Linked DNA regions of Homo sapiens: all the other regions are linked to region 1. Evidence: promoter capture Hi-C in 16 types of primary human blood cells and fetal thymus (Javierre and others, 2016). All regions are on one chromosome and are shown on one strand. The core of a region is centred on a gene start or on the middle of the fragment in contact, and the rest is flanking DNA. Distances in the headings are between cores, read along the strand shown. Region 1 holds the start of ATOX1-AS1 (ATOX1 antisense RNA 1). Region 2 overlaps SLC36A1 (solute carrier family 36 member 1). Region 3 overlaps LINC01933 (long intergenic non-protein coding RNA 1933). Region 4 overlaps SLC36A1 (solute carrier family 36 member 1).

Region 1 (5,137 bases), core at 2,384-4,883:
TGCACTCTAGCCTGGGCAACAAGAGCGAAATTCTGCCTCAGAAAAAAAAAAAAAATTAGCCAGGCGTGGTGGCGGGCACCTATAATCCCAGCTACTCGGGAGGCTGAGGCAGGAGAATCGCTTGAACCCGGGGCAGAGTGGAGCAGGTTGCAGTGAGCAGAGATCATGCCACTTCACTCCACTCTAGCCTGGGTGAAAGAGCAAACTCCATCTCCAAAAAAAAAAAAAAAGAAAAAGAAAAAAAAAAGCATCAACAGCAAAAGCTGATACAGACATACAAGATATACATTCCCATACCACAGCTGGGGAAACCCAGGCCCGAGAAAGAAGGGCCCACAGTCACATGACAAGTCAGCAGCTAGGTTCTTTCCACTGTTTCAGTTTCTTTCAGATTAAGATCCCAGTTTACAGGGCTAGAGGCCAGCCACTGACTTGCTGCGGGACTACGGGCAAGTCACTTAACCTCCTGGACACTGGCATCGACATCCCCATTCCAAAGATGGAAAGTACAGCTCAGAGGACTGCTAATGAGATCACGTCCATGTGGAAGCCATTTGAAAACTTAATGTCATTATTATTTAGGGTTTTAAAAAAGAAAATTTTAGAAGATTGTGTGATAGTTCATGTGGAAGAAAAAGAAAAGAAAAAATCTTAGAAGGCTGACTGAGCACTGGCATTGCCAAAACTCTGATCACAACTCAGTTATTACCTCACTGAGTCCCAGGACCAGATCCCAGTCCTCTCTGGGCCTCAGTTTCCCCAGCTGTAAAATGACAAGGCTGGATGAGACTGATTGTTCAAAAGAGGTGCTTTAAGAATATCTGCATGTGGCCAGGTGCGGTGGCTCATGCCTGTAACCCTAGCACTTTGGGAGACCAAAGCAGGCGGATTACTTGAGGTCAAGAGTTCAAGACCAGCCTGGCCAACATGGTGAAATCCATATCTATGAAAAGTACAAAAATTCACCGGAAATCGCCTGAACCCAGGAGGCAGAGGCTGCAATGAGCTGAGATCATGCCACTGCACTCCAGCCTGGGCAACAAACAGAGTGAGACTTCATCTCAAAAAAAAAAAAAAAAAAATCTGCATGTGAGTGATTCAAAATTAATTTAAATTTTTTTTTTTGAAGTAAAGAAACAGAAAAAGACAAAATTTTAAAAATTTTTACCTTTTTTTAAATCTTTCCTTTTTTTCTTTCTTTTTTTTTTTTTTTTTTTGGAGACAGGGTCTTGCTCTGTTGCCCCCACTGCAGTGCAGTGGCACGATCTAGGCTCACTGTGGCCTTAACCTCCCAGGCTCAAGCGATCTTCCCACCTCAGCCCCCTAAATTAGCTGTGAGTACAGGCATGTAACACCATGCCTGGCTAATTTTTTTGGTATTTTTTGTAGAGATGGCATTTTACCATGTTGCCCAGGCTGGTCTCGGGAACTCCTGAGCTCAGGCAATCTGCCCGCCTCAGCCTTCCGAAATGCTGGGATCACAGGTGTGAGCCACCGTGCCCAGCCCCATTTAAAAAACCTTAATAGAGGCTGCGTAGGGTGGCTCGCGCCTGTAATCCCAGCACTTTGGGAGGCCGAGGCGGGCAGATCACCTGAGGTCAGGGGTTCGAGACCAGCCTGACCAACATGGAGAAACCCCGTCTGTACTGAAAATACAAAATGAGCCAGGCGTGGTGGTGCATGCCTGTAATCCCAGCTACTTGGAAGGCTGAGGCAAGAGAATTGCTTGAACCTGGGAGGCGGAGGTTGCAACAAGCCGAGATTGCACCATTGCACTCCAGGCTGAGCAAGAAGAGCGAAACTCTGTCTCAAAAAAAAAAAAAAAAAAAAAAATTCAATAGAAAATGACACTCAGATGTGTCATGCAGTACACACTGGAGATGACCAACATATGAACTAGTACTGCCATGGCTCCAGAGCTACTCCTGGCAGTACTAGTTAATTTGGCTAAATCCCAGCTCTGCCATTTACTGACCATGTGATCCCAGATAAGTTATTTAATGTTTCTGAACTTCAGCTGTCTCCTGTTTAACATGGAGCTAGTAAAAAAAAAACTATCTGAAATGGCCGTGGTGAGGATTAAATGATGTGATTCACATAAGCCACTAAGAAAATAACAAGAGTAGTTGGCACGTGCTAAGTACTCAATATATTTTAGTTTTACTGTTATGATCAGCTTAACCCTAAGTCTCTCCTGCAACATCTGCATGCATCTGAACATGGCATAAGTGCACCCAACTCAGGGCCACTCACTCACCTCCAAGCTTATTGAGGACCCGAGAGACAGCTTCAGCACAGCCTCCACAGGTCATGTCCACAGAGAACTCGTGCTTCTGAAACAAACACAGGGGGACCATGACCCGAGCCCTGTAGAGTGACCCCCACACAGTGCCAGCAGACAGGCCCACTCAGGGTCAAGACAGAAGACAGAGAGACTGGGCAGGACCTGGTTGGCATCAGACTCATCAGAAGCCTGTTTCTGAGCCCGTCTCTTCAACTATAGAGTAGCTAAGAGTTTCTACCTCACAAGTTGTATTCAATGGAATCATCCCTATAAATCCTTTAGCAGTGTCTGGCACATAGTAAATAGAATCACCTGGAGATCTAGTTTAAAATGCTTTTTCCCAGTCCTACCTTCAAAACACTGATTCTTGAGCTATGAGCTTTGTCTCAGGGCCACCAGTAACTCTGACAGGGATGGGCCCCCATACTCTGAGCAATGCTGATCTGGTGGGCCCACTTATGAACCACAAAATTATTTTCTGCACTAGAGTCACCTACAGCTTGCAAAAACTACAGGTTCTGGTCAGCAGGTCTGGGCTGGGGAATCTGTTATGTCTACTCATTACCCCAGGTGATTCTGCTTTCATCCAAGGGCCGCATTCTCAGAGGCAGCATCTGGGTCCAGGGAAAGAAAGGATTGCCTGGGTTCCCCAGTGGGTTGGAGGCCAGGCAGGAAGGGATCCCCGGCTCCTAGTCTTCATGTAAGCTCTACATTCTACAGTCTCTAGGATATCTAACAGATCAAGGGTCTGAAGGTAAGCTCCCAGAAGACAGAGGTTTTGTTCAGTTCACTACTGGATTCCTAATACTTGGAACAGTGCCTGGACAGAGTAGGTGCTTAAAACTTATTTTTGAGTCAATGGATAATTGACATGGCTGGTTTGAACTTCTGGATCTTTTGCTTTGCTTTCACACAAGGATTACTTATACCAATACTTTATTTTAAAATCTCTGGAAATGAGACCATCTGAAATCAGATAAATATGGCTTCAGATACCAGCTCTGGCACTACTAGTTGCATGATCATCAATATGTTACTTCTCTGTGCCTTAGTTTCCACATCTGAAAATTGAGGGTAAGAGTCCCTCTCTAGATTTGTGAATGGGATGAACACAGGATTTTAAGTACGGTTAGCCAGCATCCAAGATGGCCTCAATGATCTCTGCCTCTGGTATTTATGCCCTTGAGTAATCCCATTCCACATGTCTCGGGTTGGTCTGTGTGTCTTATAGAATATGGCTTGAAGTGAGGTTATGTGGCTTCTGAAGCTATCACAATGTCATAAAGGACACTGTGACTTCTGTCTTGCTCCATTTCTGGGGTCACTTGCACTAGAGGAAGTCAGCTACTAAATTACAAAGAAATTCCAGCAACCACAAGGAGAGGTCCACAAAGTGAGAGATTGAACCCTCGAGCTAACAAGCATGTGAGTGAGACATGTTGGAAGTGGATTCTCCAGCTCCAGTCAAGCCTTCAGATGAATGCAGCTCCAGCCAACATCTCACTGCAGCTTTATGAGAGCCTCTGAGCTGGAGCCACTAGGCCAAGCTGTTCCCAAATTCCTGACTCTCAGAAACTGTGTGAGTTACTATAAATATATTTGTTGTTTTATACTACAAAGTTTTGGGATAATTACTAAGGAGCAATAGATAACTAACACATTAAGGAAATTAGAGCCTAGTACTAGGTTCCGTTGGGTAAAAGGTTAGCTATTGGATTATTAATTTCTTCCATTTGTCTCTCCTGTTTCCCTTCAAAAATCAATGGCTACATTTTTCATGGAGCACTTCAAAATATTTGAAGTCTATTACCTCAGTTGGAATCCTGGGTGTAGTGATATATCTTGCTAGAAAACCACAGGCAAAATCTCTGCTCCAGAAGGGCTCCAGTTCCCTAATCTATACCAAAAGGGTATTAGCTAACTCAATTTTTTTCAACTTTAGTGTGCATAGGAAGAATCTGGGGACCTTGTGGAAAGTGCAGCTCCCAGACACCTGCCTCAACTGACTCTGTGGATGTGGAGCGGGCCCTGCCACTCCCCATTTTTAACCTACTGGGGAGAGAACGGGAGGCAAAACTACAAACCTGAAAATAAAGTGGCTAAGTGGCTTCTCAAACTCTTTCCAAGTCTCTAAACACCGCTGAGTCTGGATTGTCACTGTGCTCTACAGAGGAAACGAAGACCAAGAATTAAGCAGCTCGATTTTCCAGTGCAGACTGTTTGACCTTTGTGACTAGTAAACCACTCCTTTTATTAAGGCCAAATCTGCAAAATCTGTCTTAAAGAAAATGGTCAGTCTTTCCTTTCTTCTAAACATCTCTGATTTTTTCATCTTGTTTCCTGACTATTCACAGACAGCAACAATAACAGATTCTGGAAAGAAGGATTTGTAGTAAGTATTACAAAATCTTGTCTTTAAAATGTGGTCCTCAGCCCAACAATATGAGCATCACCTGAGAGCCTGTCAGAAATGCAGAATCTCAGGTCCCTTCCCAGAAGTCCGGAATCAGAATCCTCATTTTAACAAGACACCCAAGTCATTCCTCCCCACATTACAGTCTGAGATGATGCTCTCCTCTATTAAAAAGTTTTTTTAGGCTGGGCAATGTGGCTCATGCCTATAATCTCAACACTTTGGGAGGCTGAGGCAGGTAGATCACCTGAGGTCACAAGTTTGAGACCAGTCTGGCCAACATGGCAAAACCTGTTTCTCTACTAAAAATAGAAAAAAAATTAGCCAGGCATGGTGGCAGGTGCCTGTAATCCCAGCTACTTAGGAGGCTGAGGCAGGAAAATCACTTAAACCCAGGAGTTTGAGACTAGCCTGGGCAATACAGTGAGATCATGGCTCCA
Region 2 (5,824 bases), core at 2,165-4,664, 290 kb before region 1:
GGCATGTGTGGCTCTGGGATTTGGTGGGAGTTTCAGCAGAATTGGATGATCCAGAGGGGATTTCTGTTTTCTTTTTTTTTGTTGTTTGTTTGTTTTTTTTTTTGAGATGGAGTTTCGCTCTTGTCGCCCAGGCTGGAGTGCAATGGCACGATCTCGGCTCACCACAACCTCCGCCTCCCGGTTTCAAGCGATTCTCCTGCCTCAGCCTCCCGAGTAGCTGGGATTACAGGCATGCACCACCACGCCCGGCTAATTTTGTATTTTTAGTAGAGACGGGGTTTCTCCATGTTACTCAGGCTGGTCTTGAACTCCGGACCTCAGGTGATCCGCCCGCCTTGGCCTCCCAAAGTGCTGGGGTTGCAGGCGTGAGCCACCACACCCAGCCCAGAGAGGATTTCTTGAGTGAAATGTGTTCTCTATTGAAGGCAGAGGAAAAAGAGTATACGATGAGAAATACCCAGATTTCCATCCCCCCAAGAGCTTGTACATATATATATATACGTGTGTATATGTGTATACGTGTATATATATACATACACGTGTATATACGTATATATATATATATATATATGGGATATTTATATATATATATATACACACACGATTGAACTATTGCACAAGGTCCAAGACATTATCTCAGAAAGGAGTAGATAATCCTGACCTAAGGAATAGGGAATGCGGAATTCCAGGAAGCACTTCTCTTTCATTTTCCCCCACTCCTCCCAAGCAGTGCCTCACTTCTGCCTTGTCTAGCTGTACTCCGGAAAATTAAGAAATTTATGAGTGTAGCACCACGTATACCAATGGGAAGGATGGGAGTCAGAAGTCAAGTGAACTCAGCCCGCCTCTGTGTACTTTGCACTTTTCCATTTCCCTTGGTACCAGGCACTTTCATACTTAATCCATAGTGGAGCTGTCACAGTGAGCAACTCTGACAATGACAGCTTCTACCCCAGAGGCCACCCCAAATATGGAGCTAAAGGCTCCAGCTGCAGGAGGTCTTAATGCTGGCCCTGTCCCCCCAGCTGCCATGTCCACGCAGAGACTTCGGAATGAAGACTACCACGACTACAGCTCCACGGACGTGAGCCCTGAGGAGAGCCCGTCGGAAGGCCTCAACAACCTCTCCTCCCCGGGCTCCTACCAGCGCTTTGGTCAAAGCAATAGCACAACGTGAGTAGCTGTTACCTTCTCCTCTCCTGGGTGGGATTCGTGTTCCTAAGCCTCCCTTGGACTTATTTTTCCCCCCAATTTCATCAGTCCTCCACTTTACAGATGAAGGTCAGCAGTGAAGAGATTGGGCGAGTGACTGCGCTGAGATTTGCCTTCCTGGGCTGCCACTCTCTAGGCAGTTTCTTACTCTTTTTTCCTTTCAGCTGTGTTGGCCCCCCAAGGCTGGTGCCAAGTGAGAGCTTGGACTTAAAAAAAGCTTCTACAGAGGACATTCTTTTAATTTAAAAGTGTGTCATCTGTGCTAGAACCCCAAATAATTTCCAAGCATAATCGGAAGCTTCCTTTGCAAAGTCTCCCCCCGAATTCTGCCCCATCACCAAATCAGTATTCATTTGACTGAAGAAGTGGGAAGAGAGAAGAATTAACTTCTGCACTTAAAAAATTCAGGGTTGGTAGGAAAGGAAAGATAGACTTTGCATTCTCCAAAGAGGGCTTAATCTCTTGTCTCCAGAAACTGGGACCCCAGACTCATTTGGGCTGAGTTTGGCCCGCTTCAGGTCTCACTTTCCCCAAATGTAAAGAAAAATTGAGGACTCCACCACAAAGCTATGCTGGCTGTGTGGGGCTCACCACTTGAATTAGAAAATTCAGAGGAAGTTTTGCTACTCCATTGAGTTAGTTTCCCAGCTACTCCTGATTTCAGCAGACCTCTGACTTTTCTCTGTGTCCCAGCATCTCAGCTTTTGCAGTCCTGTTTATTCCTCAAGCTTAGCTATTACCTTTTCTGTGTTTTCTTGTGGACTGAGTGTGACTTACTGAGAGATCCTTCATGTCCTAGACTTATGCCATTCCTGATGACTGCCCAAGCGGACCATGGAAGCTTCTGGGCTCATCACTGGAGAAGCTCCCTCTGCCTGCACTGTCTGCTGGTACAGGGCATTTTCTCTTGCGAACTGGGGTGGAACTAGAAGAATGTCTGTCCACATTCCTGGCCCGTCACCACCACTAGCTGATTTCTATGCCTCAGGCTGGAAGTACTCAACCAGTCCTCTAAGATTCTGTTTCTGTAGCTTATTTCTCAGGGGTATGCTTTTGTAGATTCCCCATTAGCCTGCAGTGGGAGTTAGCTGGTGGTAGATTGCTTAGAGCACAGCTGGCAGCAGTGTGGATCACCCTGCCCCTCTTTCCTCCAACCTTATCAGCATTGGCAGCCCCCATGCAGAAGCATCTCCACACACAGCCAATGGCATGTGATGGCTTCCCTTCAGAGGTCATGCTTGTTATCGTAAGATACTTCTAAGCTTCCTTCTCTGTAGTTTCCTTTGCAGTTTTTGCTCCTTTTTGATCTCAGATATCAACTTGTCTAAGCAATATTTAGCAGATGAGGTCTGGATTTTTATGTTTATAGAGACATCTCTGAAGCTCAAAACCTACCAACTAGCAACTTTAGGATAGTAGCTCATAGGTTTTGGACAAAATTATGTCCTTGTTTCTTGGAAATCGAACAAATCAGAAGATACCTTCCTCAGGCTTGTATTGTGACATTTTCCAGGGTATACTTTGTTCCGAGTTTCCCTTCCTGCCTTGATGTTGTGATACAGTGTAGGTGACCAGGGAAGCCTATCTGTAGTTGATGGCAGGTATTACAGTCCCATCACAGGTGGTACAAGATAAAGTAATTTGCTGGGGCTTAGAGGACTGGTTGAGTACTTCCAGCCTGGGGCATAGGATCCACGCAAGGATTTATATAGAAAACATGCCAGGTATGATTAAGGTAGAGGTTGATTTGGAGGACCTTCTTAACCTAAATTAATATTTTAATATGTCGGAAGTGTTAGAGACAAGTTTTTGAGCTGGGTTCCTTTTATATTTCTGGTTTGCCCCACCCTTTTATCTAGTTTGCCAAGGAACAAAATACATGGAAGTACTTCTACACCTACTGCACATATGCATGCACACACCTGGCTCTTCTAGAAGTCAAGGGCTCAGCAAAAACCCCTAGTTAGGGGGTGCAAATAGGAACCCCAAACACTTCCATGAGTTTCATGGGTTACTTCCTTTTATTTTTTTGAGACAGGGTCTTGCTCTGTTGTCCAGGCTGGAGTGCACTGGCACAATCATGGCTCACTGCAACCTCCATCTCCTGGGCTCAAGTGATCCTCCCACCTTAGTTTCCTAAGTAGCTGAGACTACAGGCATGCTCCTGGCTACTTTTTGTATTTTTTTTTTTTTTTTTGTAGAGATAGGGTTTTGCTATGTTGCCCACTTAGTCTTAAACACCTGGGCTCAAGTGATCCGCCTGCCTCGGCCTCCCAAAGTGCTTGGATTATAGGCATGAGCACCATGCCTGACCTGTGAATTATTTCTTAGTGTGTTCAGTGAGGTTATTTACTAACACTTGATGTTACCAAGCTATTGACTGCTTCGAAGACAGCCTCATTTTATGCTGTTGGGCAGATTTTTCTTCTTGTTGCCCCTCTGAGTTCCATTATATATATCAAGCCTCCGTGCTTCTTCCCCATGCAAACTGAAACCAGCAGACTGAAACTGGCTCTCTAAAGGTGAGCTGGAGTAGTCATTTGCAAAATGTGGTCTGCACACTTTGTGGGCTTCCCAAGACCATTTCAAGAAGTCTATGAGGCTAAAACTCTCTTCATAATAATACTAAGATGTTATCTGCTTTTTCACTTGTGGATATTTGCACTTATAATGTAGAAGCAATGGTGGGTAAAATTACACTGTAGAACGAATCAAGGCAGTGGCACCAAATTATACTAGTTGTCGTTGTATTTTTCACTGCCACACATGCGCAAAGAAAAAAGCCCTTTGCACTTAATAATGTCTTTGATGAAACTGTAGGATTACTAATATTTAAAAATTTGAGACCCTTCAGTATAGGTCTTTAATATTCTGTGTGGCAAAATGGGAAGTATGCATGAAGTACTTCTATGAGTACCAAAATATGTTACTTGTCTTAAGGCAAAGACCTCGAGTGATTATATGAGTTGTCAACCAAACTTGCTGCCTTTTTTTTTTTTCATAGAACTAGAAAGAACAACTAACAAACTGTAGGTCATTCAGACCTGAGTACTTGTAAGACATTTTCTTGAAAATGAAAGAAATCAGCCCATCACCTCAAGGAAAACAATAGATAATACATATCTGTTGCCCAGAATAAAATTCAAGCTTTCAAGCAAAATTAGGAAAAAAAACCAACTTGTATCCAGTACCATGAGCTTGATAGCCCCTCTACTTGAAGACTTTTCTGATGAGATTAGTGGTGATATTAACAAATATGACTTTTTGATATTATTAATATACAATGAAGATGTTAACATTTGGAAGATCTGTGTAAACTCAACCAAAGTATGATGTTAGGAATTCTGCATGGGTAAAAGATCCATTGAAAGAGCAAGATCACCAATGGATTTTTTTTTTCTTTTTTTTTTGAGACAGTCTTGCTCTGTCACCCAGGCTGGAGTGCAGTGGCACAATCTTGGCTCACTGCAACCTCTGCCTCCCGGATTCAAGCGATTCTTCTGCCTCAGCCTCCCGAGTAGCTGGGATTACAGGTGCCTGCCACCACGCCCAGCTAATTTTTATATTTTTAGTAGAGACGGGGTTTCACCATGTTGGCCAGGATAGTCTCAATCTCTTGACCTCATGATCTGCCCGCCTTGGCCTCCCAAAGTGCTGGGATTACAGGCATGAGCCACTGCACCTGGCCTGACTTTTTTTTTTTTTTAAATACTAAATGTATCAGGGACTTCTGGCCTCTTATGGTGTGGTGTGACTTTTATGCTGTTCACTTTGTATCTTTCTGTTACAGGGTTTGGGGCTTCTGTTATTATTATTATTATTTTTTAATTTCCTCTGTTCTCTTACCAGTGTTTGTCCGTCATTGTTTGGTTTGTCATCCTCTGTTGCAGTTTTGGGATCTGAGTCTTTTTTTTTTTTTGAGATGGAGTCTCCCTCTATTGCCTAGGCTGGAGTACAGTGGCACGATCTTAACTCACTGCAACCTCTGCCTCCCGGGTTCAAGCAATTCTCCTACCTTAACCTCCTGAGAAGCTGGGATTACAGGCACATGCCGCTATGCCTGGCTAATTTCTGTATTTTTAGTAGAGACGGGGTTTCGCCTTGTTGGCCAGGCTGGTCTCGAACTCCTGACCTCAGGTGATCCACCGCTTCGGCCTCCCAAAGTAGTGGGATTATAGGCATGAGCCACTGTGCCTGGCCAGGTCTGAGCCTTTACAGTGGTCAGTTCAGTGGTTAGAACCAGACCCAAATACACTTGGAAAGGATAGAGTGTCTGAAGAGAGTTGGAGCACCCCTCTGGTCTAATCTCTGAGAGAAGGGATTCTCAGAAATGTCAGAGAGTGGAGACTTACAGCACAGTGGATAAGAGGGGGAGCTCTGGAGTCAGACTGCCCAAATTTGAATCCTGCCCCAGCCCTTTACTAGGTATGTGACCTTGAGCAAACTGCTTCATCATCTATAAGATAAAATCTTACAGGGTTGTTGTGGAAATAAAATAAGATAATGCATATAAGCACTGAGATCCTAATAAAAGTTAACTGTCATGGTTATCATTTCCTTGGCTGTCTTCCACTTCAGATGGTTCCAGACCTTGATCCACCTGTTAAAAGGC
Region 3 (5,653 bases), core at 521-3,020, 390 kb after region 1:
TCCTGGGAGGAGAGAGGGATTTAGGAAGATCTCACTTTGGCTCCATTGAGTCTCCCTGGGTTAGGAGTGATTTTTTTATGTTTGTTTGGTTTTGTTTTCTGAGGAATCGGCAGCGGGTCTAATTAATGCCATCAAAAGCATGACATTTAATTAACTAAATAGCATGTTGAGCCTAATGATAACATATTTCAGCACCCGGCAGGCGGTGATGGTCTCTTGGGCCATTTCGGAGGAGGCCTGTGATTTGATAAAGAGAAACCCTTCTCAACAAAATCAGGAATCCCCCGAGAGTAACCAGAGAAGCTGCAGCAAGAGTGCCAGCCAGGCAGATTCTCTTATCTCCTGGACTCTGCTTGGAGAGGCCGAGGAACAAAGAAGAATGGCAGGGGAGGAACGGGACCGCTGCACAGCCTCGTCATCTTTTAAACATGTTTCTTGGAAATTCAGAGGCATATAGGAGCAAATTTAGCTTCTAAATGGCCTATTCCCATACCTTGGTTTATTCCAGTCCCATTGGTAAATGGATCAGGGGAAACAAGGCAGGATAGACAAGTAACTTGTAAGGGGATGTCTGAAGCCAGATTGCCAAGTCTCTCTGAGCAGCTGAGTAGGTGGACGTGGGTGCCCTCTGCTGGACACTGGAGAATCTGCAGTGATGCTTATCTGGACCCTCACCCAGGGGCTGAGAGCTTCAGCCTGGAGTTAAACCTTCTGAGTAGAGTACCCAGGGTCCCTTCAGTCACAACAGGCCTCTCCAAAGGCTGTCTCAGAGAAGTGTACTTTTAGATCATTCCGTGGCTTAACTTATCCACATCTCTGTTTGCCACCCCATTTTGGTTATGTTCCCCAAACATTCTATTCCCTTAAGCTCAGTTGTGCTATTCTTTTTCCCCTTATCTCTTTTGTAATAAATCTGGATGAAATTACTTGTATATGGCATCACAAACCGCATCCTTTGGGTCTTATATTTAGACTCTGATTTTAGAGAAGGGCCAAACAGAGGCTTAGAGTGGTGAAATGACCTGTCCAAAGTGACAAAGACCCAGCAGGGACTAAAACTCAGACTACCCCATCCTGTTTCATTTCCCTTTCCTCGATACGCATCTTCCCATAGAAAGACAATATATCCCAGTGGTGAGGCTGAAAGCTCTGGAGACAGAGGTCCTGGGCTTGACTCCTGGCTTTGCCATGCGTTGGCTGTGTGATATTGGATAGGGTATCCTTTAAGCTTTTATGTGCCTCTGTGTTCTCATCTAATAGAGTGGTTGTGAGAGTGAAATAACGTAAGGCAGATAAAGCATTCAGTATAGTATCTGGCACATAGTAGGTGCTCAATAAATAATATTTACCATTAGTTCCATGATTGCCTAGTGGTATTAGTTGGAAATTATTTTTGGTGGTTCTGTAATGGAACTGCTAGAACAAAATTTCCTAAGTTTTTTTTTTTCATTAAACATAAAAATCTACCTCTTTCCAAATGGAAGCACCTTCTAGCTAGAGTGAGCAAACTGGGAGGTGGGAGAGTTTAGGGAAAATATTTAAGTAACTGATGTATAGCTTTCTAGAGACAGTGTGGTTCAAGATGAGACTGGAAAAGCTACTGGGAGGTAGGTGGCCTTGAATGCAGGAATTTGGCTTTATTCTGCATGCAATAGGGGGTCATGGCTGATGCTTGAATATGGCAGTTTTTATTTTCCCATTTCCCTTGTATGGATTGCTTCTCCTGCTCCTACAGTGTGAGGGCTGTCAAGAGCTCGAATGATTGCTGTTCTTATCACGTGTGCACGTGCACATGAACACACCCATCTTGGGGCTTTCAGTATTCCAATCACCTTGAGGTTGTCGCCAAGGAGCCTAGTGTTGCTTGCAGCCACGTCAGAATGAAGAACAAGCTGGGCCGTCACAGTCTGCTGGTGGTGGGGGCTTGTCACTTCTAGATGGAGTGTTGTTCCCGTGCATGGAAATCGCTGGTGTGGGCGAAAAAAAGCTGAGGATACTGGCAGAGGGGAAAGAAAGGAGGCAAGTGGCTGCTTGAATGCAGGAGGGGAAAGAGAGAGAGACTTTTCTGCCATTTCTGTAGGGATTGTCCCCAGGAAAGAGACAGTCAGTCATGTGAGCAAAGGATGCCTTGACTTCCTCAGGGTGTACTTCATCTCCTGTTGCTGGCTACAGATGGCTGAAGTCAATGCTTTATTCCTCCTCTTGCTTGGCACTTTCACTTTCTGGATTTTGCCAATTGTTATTTGCTGGGGTGAGCAGGAGATGTAACTGGGAGAAAGGAAACAGGTAGGGTTGTGATAGATGTTTCAAATGGAAGCTTAATGGAATTTGCCCTTTGGGGAATGCAGCCCTTACAACCCGCATCAGGGACTCAATGACTTGGAGCTCCAAGTGTCCCTGATGACCTTTTCTGTTAGAGGCAGATTGGCAGGCCTGTAGGCTATGCGTGGATGCATTTGTTTTGGCACTAGAGTGCTCTTTTTTTTTTTTTTTTCAATGTTAGGATGAGATGACACAATTTTAAAATTTGATTTTTTTTTTTTCATTTAGAAATTTGAATTTCTGGCTTCTCTTGAAAACCAGATCATTTGATGACACTGGTCTGCATTCCCCCTTGGCAGCAATCTATAAGTAAAAAAAAGACTCTGCCCTGCTTTAAATAGGTCAAGAATTCTCTAGTTCCCTACAGTTTCCACCCTGATCCATTATCTTGATCAGCTTGGCCTTGTAAACACTTTGTAACCCAACAGTATATGATCCCTGCCTGATCCAGGCTAACCTCCCCATTTTAGAAATAAGAGCTGTGAGGTTCAGAGAGGGCCTTCGGTTTACCCATGGTCATACAGCCTCCCCCATGGACAGAGTAGGCTCCATTTACATATGATTTGAGGGGTGATCAAAAGCACTTACCCTTTTTCCTTTACTTCCAAGTGAAAAATTTACCTCTCACCCTGGCCTTCTGTTCATTAGCAGTCTAAAATGGACTCAAGAAAGAGAATTATTTGGCTATATTACCTTTCTGGCCTTCTTTAAATCATATGTTATATCTTTTGCTCTTTTCTGCTTATTTAGCTAACCTCACTCTGACCCGCTCTGACTCACTCAGACACTCAGGTAGGCCAGATGGTGTTGCTGTTGAAACTGAGGCAGTGGAGACAGAGCCTCGAATCCTCGGGTAAAAATCACAGTTCTGGGTCTGAGGCTCCTCATCTGGCAGAAAGTGTTCATAACCTCAGGAGGTGGTTATGAAGATTAAAAGAAGCAAAAAGTTGAATGTGTTTATCATAGTAGTAGCAAATTGGAAAAAATAGTAACTCAGTGTTAGAAGTTATTATTCTAGAGAGACTCAGAACTGAAGGTGTCCCAGGAGATCGTACTGTCCAACTGGCTCATTTTTGTGGTGAAAGCCATAACGTGCTTATAGTAAAAATCTGAGTGGAGAAGAAAATACAGTAAAATATAAAAGGATTTTTCTCCCTATCACTACCTTCATTTCAGTCTAATTTCCCCAGAGGCAATAACTGTTAAGTTTCTTGCGTGTCCTTTCAGATATTTTATTTGCATATACATTATAAATAACTTGCATCCTGTATTTTGACACAAATGTAATCAGACTACTCATGCTGTTCTGATACTTGCATTTTTTATTTAACAATATGTAGTAGATCTCCTTTCATGTCAGCGCATGAGGGTTTTTTTTCTGTTTTCAATGGCCCGTTTATTTCACAGGAAGTTTATACTATAGCTTACAGACCAACGAATGTATTCTGCAAAAGACCAGATACCTAATATTGTAGGCTTTGTTGGTCATAGGATCTCTGTACCACCTATTTCTCCTCCCCTTTCTCTTCTTCCTCCTCTTTCTTGTCCTATTTCTCTTTTTAACAATGCTTTGAAGATGTAAAGACCATTTTTAGCTCACAAGTCATACCTCAACAGGCTGTGAGCCCGATTTGGCGCATGTGGTAGCTCATTTACACAACTTTTGGGTAGACAGGTTGCTACTACACATAATGCTGCAACGGGCATCTCTGTGCTGCATCTTTCAGTGTTCATTTGAGTTTACTTGTAGGATATATTCACAGGAGTGGAATTACTGGGACACGTTTCTTAATCGTGAAAGATATTCCATCAAACTCCTCATTTATAGGTGGTATAAGAGGTCCAGTGAAGAGACTGATCCAGAGTTGCTCAGCAAGTCGGTGGTAAGAGCAGGACTAAAACTTCCTTTCCCAGCACTTAACTAGGGCTCCTTCCGCTGTTGTGCAGACCCTATCTGATATGGTTTGGCTGTGTCTCCACCCAAATCTTATCTTGGATTGTGGTTCCCATAATCCCCACGTGCCATAGGAGGGACCCCACGGGAGGTAATTTAATCACGGGGGAGGTTACCCTCATGCTGTTCTTGAGACAGTAAGTTCTCACGAGATATGAGGGTTTTATAAGGGGCTTTTCCCTTTTACTTGATACTTTTTTTGATGCCGCCGTGTGAAGAAGGACATGTTTGCTTCCCTTTCTGCCATGATTGTAAGTTTCCTGAGGCCTCTCCAGCCATGTTGAACTCTGAGTCAATTAAACCTCTTTCCTTTATAAATTTCCCAGTCTCTGGTATGTCTTTATTAGCAGCATGAGAATAGACTGATACATCCCTGCTGAGGGCTCACAGGGAATTTGTTGTGGGACATGGAGTTGGAAAGACCCAAGCTTTCTCAAGTCCAGAGGGAGGCGCAGAGCAGGGTCACAGAACCGAGGGACCTCAACACTGTCAGATCTCTTTCCCCTCCTGTCTCATTTCTGCTTCTTGCAGTTGCTTTCGATGATGTGGGGCAGAAGCTCCAGGGTCAGTTTTATGTCATGTGTGTGGCCTGAAAGGAAAAGAAAGCTTTTGACTGCAATTAACAGAAAACACACAAAAGAAGCTTTTGCTTGCAATTAACAGAAAACTCTGGCACAAACAAATATAAATACAGTTTATTACATCACATAACTCCAAGTTCAGAGGCAGGGCAGTCTCTAGGCAACATTCAGGCAGTGGCTGGATACTGTCCTCATGGACTCTGGGTCTTTCTGCTTCCTGTTTCTGTTCTCAGTGCTGGCTTCATCTTTAAGCTGGTGATGAAAGGGTTGAACTAGTTCCAAGTGTCACATGTAGAACCAGTGATAGTCTGTGTCTTCTTCTCAGGAAAGAGAAAACTTTCCCAGCATACCTGTAGCATATTTCCCTTGATTGGCCAAAACTGGGACACATGACAGCTGTTGACTCAATTCCTGATAAGAGGGATGAGAATACCATCATTGACTTAGAAAAATGATCTGGGGATGAATGGATGTTGGGGCATCTACTGCCCTGACTATTACGCAGTGCTTATTTCTGAACTCAGGTCTGGAAACTTACAGAGATTAATTTGAATTGGATTATTTTAGGTTACATACCCATTTCTTAGACCAATCCCTATGGTCAATAGGCCATTGTAGTTGCCAAGCTTGACCAATGGCTGTGGTGTAAGCATATGGCAAGCTTTGAGAACAGAGAAAAGGTGAGGAGAATCTGCTTCCCCAAAAGAAAGATACCTTCCACTGGTGTGCACTTCACCCTTCAGAAGATCCCAGGTCTTCGGAGGCAGCCTAAGTAGAGGAGAAGCACTAGCATTGA
Region 4 (5,279 bases), core at 657-3,156, 280 kb before region 1:
TGGAGGTTTAACTTGTCACTGCTAGTGCTTGCCCCTGTTGAGCTAGAGTGGCAGTTTTCCCTGACCTATATTTTGCATTCTTTAGACAGGTTAGCAGGAAGCTGTGATCTCAGGTTAGATGCCAGGTGGGCATGACATGAGAGGGCCTTCTGGTTGCCATGTGGCCTCACTCACAGGGCAAGGGACATTCCCAGCCTGCAGGGATCCTGCAGCAGGAGGACAGAGCACTGGCCTGAGCCAGGAGTCCTGGGCTCGTGTCCTGTCCACCCTTACTTTTAGGACTTCCTAGCTAGGCAGTGGGCTGCAGAGTCCCTTCTAGTCCCAAGAGCATAACGTCTGATGAAATAACTTTATTTAAAGAGCAGATGTGCTTCTGGAGAATTCTGGGGATAAAAGAGTTACTTTTTTTCTGAGGTTTTTTTTTTTCTTGGCCATTAACTTTTCTTTTTTCTGCACTTTCTCTCCTCTCTCACTACTCTCTCATAGGTTCTGCCCCTGGAAAACAAAATGAAGGATCCTCGGAAGTTCCCACTCATCCTGTACCTGGGCATGGTCATCGTCACCATCCTCTACATCAGCCTGGGGTGTCTGGGGTACCTGCAATTTGGAGCTAATATCCAAGGCAGCATAACCCTCAACCTGCCCAACTGCTGGTACGTGGAGGGAGGATGGAAACCTAGGAGCACTGGATATTTTTAAAAACTAATGGGTCACAGTGTGGATTCTCCCTCTTACTTATCTCTTAAACCAGCCCACTTCACTCTAGCCCACCATCCCCTGCCACTGCCAGCCCTCACTGGCTGCCCTGGACTGCATTCTGTTTGGGGAATTCATGTAGAGCCTTCTGCTGAAGCCATTGGTGCTGATCAGCCGATGGGTAAGCCATTTCTCCTTGGAATTCCTAAGCTCAGAAGGACCGAGTATCTAGTCCATTCATGGTAAACCATTCCAAATAGACAGGGAGATGGGAGGGCAAACCTGCATTTGATTCCCAGCATCGGTTGTGCCTCTCCCTTGGTAGTAACAGGCTTGATATGCAGATGGGAGCATCTCACTGTGAGCCGGGGATTGTTGGGAGTCCTTTTGTACCTCCCTTGCATTGGTGAATGTATTATAGGGAAATAGTGAGCCATTTTGAAATGCTTCCTGAAAGGGTGAATGTCCCAGGGCATGTGCAGAGCAACCATCCTGTTTTGAAGATGAATCATCTCATGGTGGAGAGCAGCTGTTAGCAGACACTGAGAAGCTTGTTGAGTGCTCTGCGGATCAGAATCAGCTTTCAGTCTAGGCTGGCTGATCTGCCTGGGTGTGCTTTTTATTTTGTTTTGTATTGTTTTATTTTATTGTATTTTTTAAGACAACAGCACTCAGTATTTCCAGGGGCTTTCCCGTTCAAGTACGAACCAGGCTTGACCCTGCTTAGCTTCCAAGATCAGGTGAAATTGAGCACATTCAGAATGGTATGGCTATAGACCTGGATTCGCTTTTTATTTTTTTATATTCTTTTTCAGTTGATTTTAACTCGTGAGGCATACCAATTATATATATGGATGCAGTATGTGTGACATTTGGATACATATGTACAATGTGTAATTATCAAATCAGGGTAATTGGCATATCCATCTTGTGTCTACTTTTAAATTTCCAAATGTTTCTGCCCTTCCAAGAAGGAAGAGGCAGGTGGTAGCTTGGTGTAACTGTGTCACCTTTCCCTGGAAGATAAATGGATCGGGAGCAACAGAAGCAGCCCACATGATCCGAAGCCATAGAGGAGAATCTGTCTTCTTTCCTAACACCCCAAACCCAGCTGCTGTAACTCTTCTGCCTCCATTTGGGTATAATTTATTTGGCTATCCCTGCAGGTGTCACTCTCCTAAGTCCAGACTTCACAGCTCTCCAGAGGCTTTGGGGCTGCTTTGAGTTTAATGATAGAGCCACCAGATGATTTTTCCCAAGAGTTTTTATTATCTATTCATGGAGCAAGTATGACCTTTTACCAGACTCAGTCTTTACAAGGTTGTTCTCCTGCTTATAGCATAAGAACATCTTCTAGATTTTAAATTCAACCACAGAGAAACTCAAGGCACATATACACAGTCTGTATTAGCACATTTAAATAGATTTCCGACAAGGGAGGACAAATGTTTCTTGCTGTTTAACACATGAGGGTCTGGTTTAAGGTGGAGCTTTGCTTAGGGACAGAGACCTTTCCTTTTAATGACCAGGTCAGATCTGTAAGTTGATCACAGACTGTTTTCCTACTCTGTGCAGTCAAGGCACTGGAGTAATAAAATAGGGATATCCTGTGGTGAGTTACGTCATTTTTGGAAGCTACACTTGAAGCAGTAGTAGGAAGAGAGCCATAGTGGTATGGAAAGATGGAATTCTGCTCTGGCCTCTTGGTCCTGCAGTGTCTTCATCTAATTCTAGGGACACTGACTTGGATGGGACAGATATAAATAGGCTTGTGACATTTTAATTGCAATTTTGTTTTTATTTTTGAAGGCATGTACACCTGTATGCCCATGGCAAAGATTGAGATTTTCAAAAGGTATATAGAGAGCATTAAGCTTCCACCCCGCGCCCTCCACTCTAGTTCCCAATTTTACAATTTCCCATTTCAGAGGCAACCATATTCCCAGTTTCTTTTTTGTTTGTTTGTTTGTTTTGAGATGTTTAGTGTATGATTGTCATGTGGGGTGAGTGTGTGTTTTTTCCTCCTCTTTTTTCTTTTTTAAGACAAATTGTAGCACTCTGTAGGTACTGTATTGCTTCATGCTTTTTTCACTTAAAAAAAGTGATATAAAACTGTCCCCATGATAGTGATATGCTATATCATGTGATAGAGTGATATATCATGGGGATAGTTTCATATCACACCATCACACCTAGAGTTCTGCCTCATACTTTGTTAAAAGCTATACGGGGGCACCACGATTTACCTATCGAGTTCCCACTGGTTAACATTTAAATTGTTTTCAGTCTTTCCTTCTTAAATAATGCTGCAGTGAGATATTTTGAATATAAGCTTTTGTGTATGTGTGTGAGGATATCTGTGAGGTAAATTTCTAGACATGAAATTGCTGGGTCCGAAGGACATGTGGGTTTGTATCCTTGATAAGTGTCAACAAATCGCAATGGGACCATTTTGCACTCTTGCTGATGATGTATAAGTGTGCTGAGCAGGCTTGGAATGTCTCCTGTCTGTTTCGGCAGGTTGTACCAGTCAGTTAAGCTGCTGTACTCCATCGGGATCTTTTTCACCTACGCACTCCAGTTCTACGTCCCGGCTGAGATCATCATCCCCTTCTTTGTGTCCCGAGCGCCCGAGCACTGTGAGTTAGTGGTGGACCTGTTTGTGCGCACAGTGCTGGTCTGCCTGACATGTGAGTAGAAGATGATAATTGCCTTGCTTGTTTTTCCCTAAAGGGCACCCAGTCTGCAGGCTTTCATGAGAAAAGACAATGTGTGTTGTAGTGAAGCTGGCTATGTTTGTGACAGAGAACCTGGCCCATGGCCTCACTTTCAGAGTTGAGGCACCTCCAGATGGGGAAGTGAATTAATTACATATGTACTGTAAAGAACATGGGAATGAGGACAGTGGTTTATGTATAGATAGGGTATGAAATGCTGTGGAGGTGGTTATCATTCAGAGTAAAGACATGCGATTACTATCCCATATTAAATAAGGTAAAGGTCTGAAAGCCATTTAACCCATATCTGTAATGAGTATAAGTTACTCTGATGAAGGGTACTTATTTGCTTTTTCAAATAGTTGTTTTTCCACTGTGACAAGTTGCTCCTTAGATTTCCTTTAGAGGCTTTATGATAGTATTCTAGACATTTTTTAATGTCAGTCTTACTAAATATGTTTCAGAAAATTTCTATTGATTAACCTAGGTATTTGATTGATCACTTGTGTTTTATTCTTCTTCTCTCAACCCCATTCCCAGGAGTGTAAGTTAAAAGACAGGATACCCTTCTGTTTGCTGTGGTTGAAAACTGGTGACATTTAGAAAATAAAAGTAAATTTTTTTTGTAGCTTCTGTGAGTTGGTAGACTAGAGAACCCCTGAGCAAATCGGTTGATAATAGCTAATTTAAGTTTCTAAGAGATTTGCAATTGTTTTCCAAATTCAAATGCTTAAAAGCATAGATTCCTCTTTTTGGCTCTATTTGGCTTTTTTTTCTCTTTTTAGGTTTTATTATTTTTGAACAAGAACCTCTTTGCTTATTATGTTGAGACTTCCCTGAGAATTTTCTTAAATTATTCAGTCTGAGCCTCTGTCTTTGGGATAAAGATAGATCCATATGACTTTTTAAATTCTAATTAGGGTTGAATGTTTTAAGGATGAAAGATGGGAAAGTTGTCTAGCATTTGCTCTTAGTCACTCCTTCAGGCCCTCTCCTAGACCAGCCTATATAGAAACAGCCCACGCAGCAGCTAATCCAGGGGCCAGGGCTGTTGAAAGCCAGCTGCTGTTCCCACAGCGACTGAAAAAGAAGGAACATGATGTATCCTGCTTTTCTAATAGATTGCCTTAATGTGTGCTGCTAAGATGGGATGCTTGGACTGTAAATTTTAATCCTATCTTGTGCCAGTAACTCTCCATGCTTTGATTCCAAAGTGTATGTTTCCACCGTGGATGGAGTAGCTCTAAGTGCTTGAGGAGACAGCTTTCACGTGTATGGTATTTATAATGTAAACTCTGAGGGCCCAATTCTTAAATCTAAAGGGCACTGGAAGAAAGAGTGTGGTTAGTTCAAATAATTTGCTTTTATCCAAAGTGCTCCCTCCGGAAAAAGTAGGTCTCTGTAGGTAAAATGTGCCTTCCTGACTAAACAGCTCCTCCACCCTGCCTATTGAGCTGGGGCAGTGACAGGAGCCTGACTCCTCTCCCTGCCCAATTTTCCCCTCCAGCCTGGCTCAGCCTCCCTGTAGCATATGTCACACTTCCTGCCAGGTTTATTTCTGCAGCACCCTGCAGGAGACAGCAGTCTCTGATTCACAGACCTCATGTTATCCTTAGATGCCTCTTGGATTTTGCTTCACTTTTCCTGGCCCTGTCTGTGAGTCTCATCTCCCTTCAACAGGACGATGCTCAGAAGACACGGCTGCTTTTGGTCTTCAAGTGTGTGCAGTTGTTTTTCCCTTCTGTGATCTGTTGTGACTTAGCATTGCATTGTCATCCTGTTCAAAAAGGCAGCCCCCTTTATGTCTGAGAGCACTCGCCTCTCTCACCTTCCTTGGAGACTTTGAAGTAATTGTGGGACTCAGTA

The links. The method cuts DNA at HindIII sites, captures the fragments that hold promoters and counts their contacts. A CHiCAGO score of 5 or more calls a contact.
Region 2: a contact is called between a fragment that was not itself captured here and the fragment with the promoter of ATOX1-AS1 in region 1, in 5 of 17 cell types (M0 macrophages, M2 macrophages, monocytes and 2 more). The highest score is 8.4, in M0 macrophages.
Region 3: a contact is called between a fragment that was not itself captured here and the fragment with the promoter of ATOX1-AS1 in region 1, in 1 of 17 cell types (total CD8 T cells). The highest score is 7.7, in total CD8 T cells.
Region 4: a contact is called between a fragment that was not itself captured here and the fragment with the promoter of ATOX1-AS1 in region 1, in 3 of 17 cell types (M1 macrophages, M0 macrophages and monocytes). The highest score is 8.5, in M1 macrophages.

The regions. Positions count from the first base shown.
Region 1 is chr5:151,749,447-151,754,583 of GRCh38, forward strand. ATOX1-AS1 (ATOX1 antisense RNA 1) reads left to right here and starts at 3,634. Exons shown (of 4, transcript XR_007059008.1): 1 at 3,634-3,863; 2 at 4,227-4,676. It overlaps ATOX1 (antioxidant 1 copper chaperone), which reads right to left. Exons shown (of 4, transcript NM_004045.4): 2 at 2,258-2,333. RefSeq lists an enhancer at 224-473. The HindIII fragment of the contact is 3,507 bases long and covers 2,263-5,137 here.
Region 2 is chr5:151,457,763-151,463,586 of GRCh38, forward strand. It overlaps SLC36A1 (solute carrier family 36 member 1), which reads left to right. Exons shown (of 11, transcript NM_078483.4): 2 at 1,026-1,173; 3 at 5,791-5,824. The coding sequence starts at 1,031. Among named protein-coding and RNA genes, the nearest start is that of SLC36A1, 13 kb to the left of the region's middle. The HindIII fragment of the contact is 1,885 bases long and covers 2,473-4,357 here.
Region 3 is chr5:152,142,409-152,148,061 of GRCh38, forward strand. All of the region lies in intron 1 of LINC01933 (long intergenic non-protein coding RNA 1933), which reads left to right. Among named protein-coding and RNA genes, the nearest start is that of LINC01933, 190 kb to the left of the region's middle. The HindIII fragment of the contact is 1,089 bases long and covers 1,227-2,315 here.
Region 4 is chr5:151,476,104-151,481,382 of GRCh38, forward strand. It overlaps SLC36A1 (solute carrier family 36 member 1), which reads left to right. Exons shown (of 11, transcript NM_078483.4): 9 at 487-653; 10 at 3,217-3,386. It also overlaps the pseudogene RNA5SP197. Among named protein-coding and RNA genes, the nearest start is that of SLC36A1, 31 kb to the left of the region's middle. The HindIII fragment of the contact is 1,324 bases long and covers 1,245-2,568 here.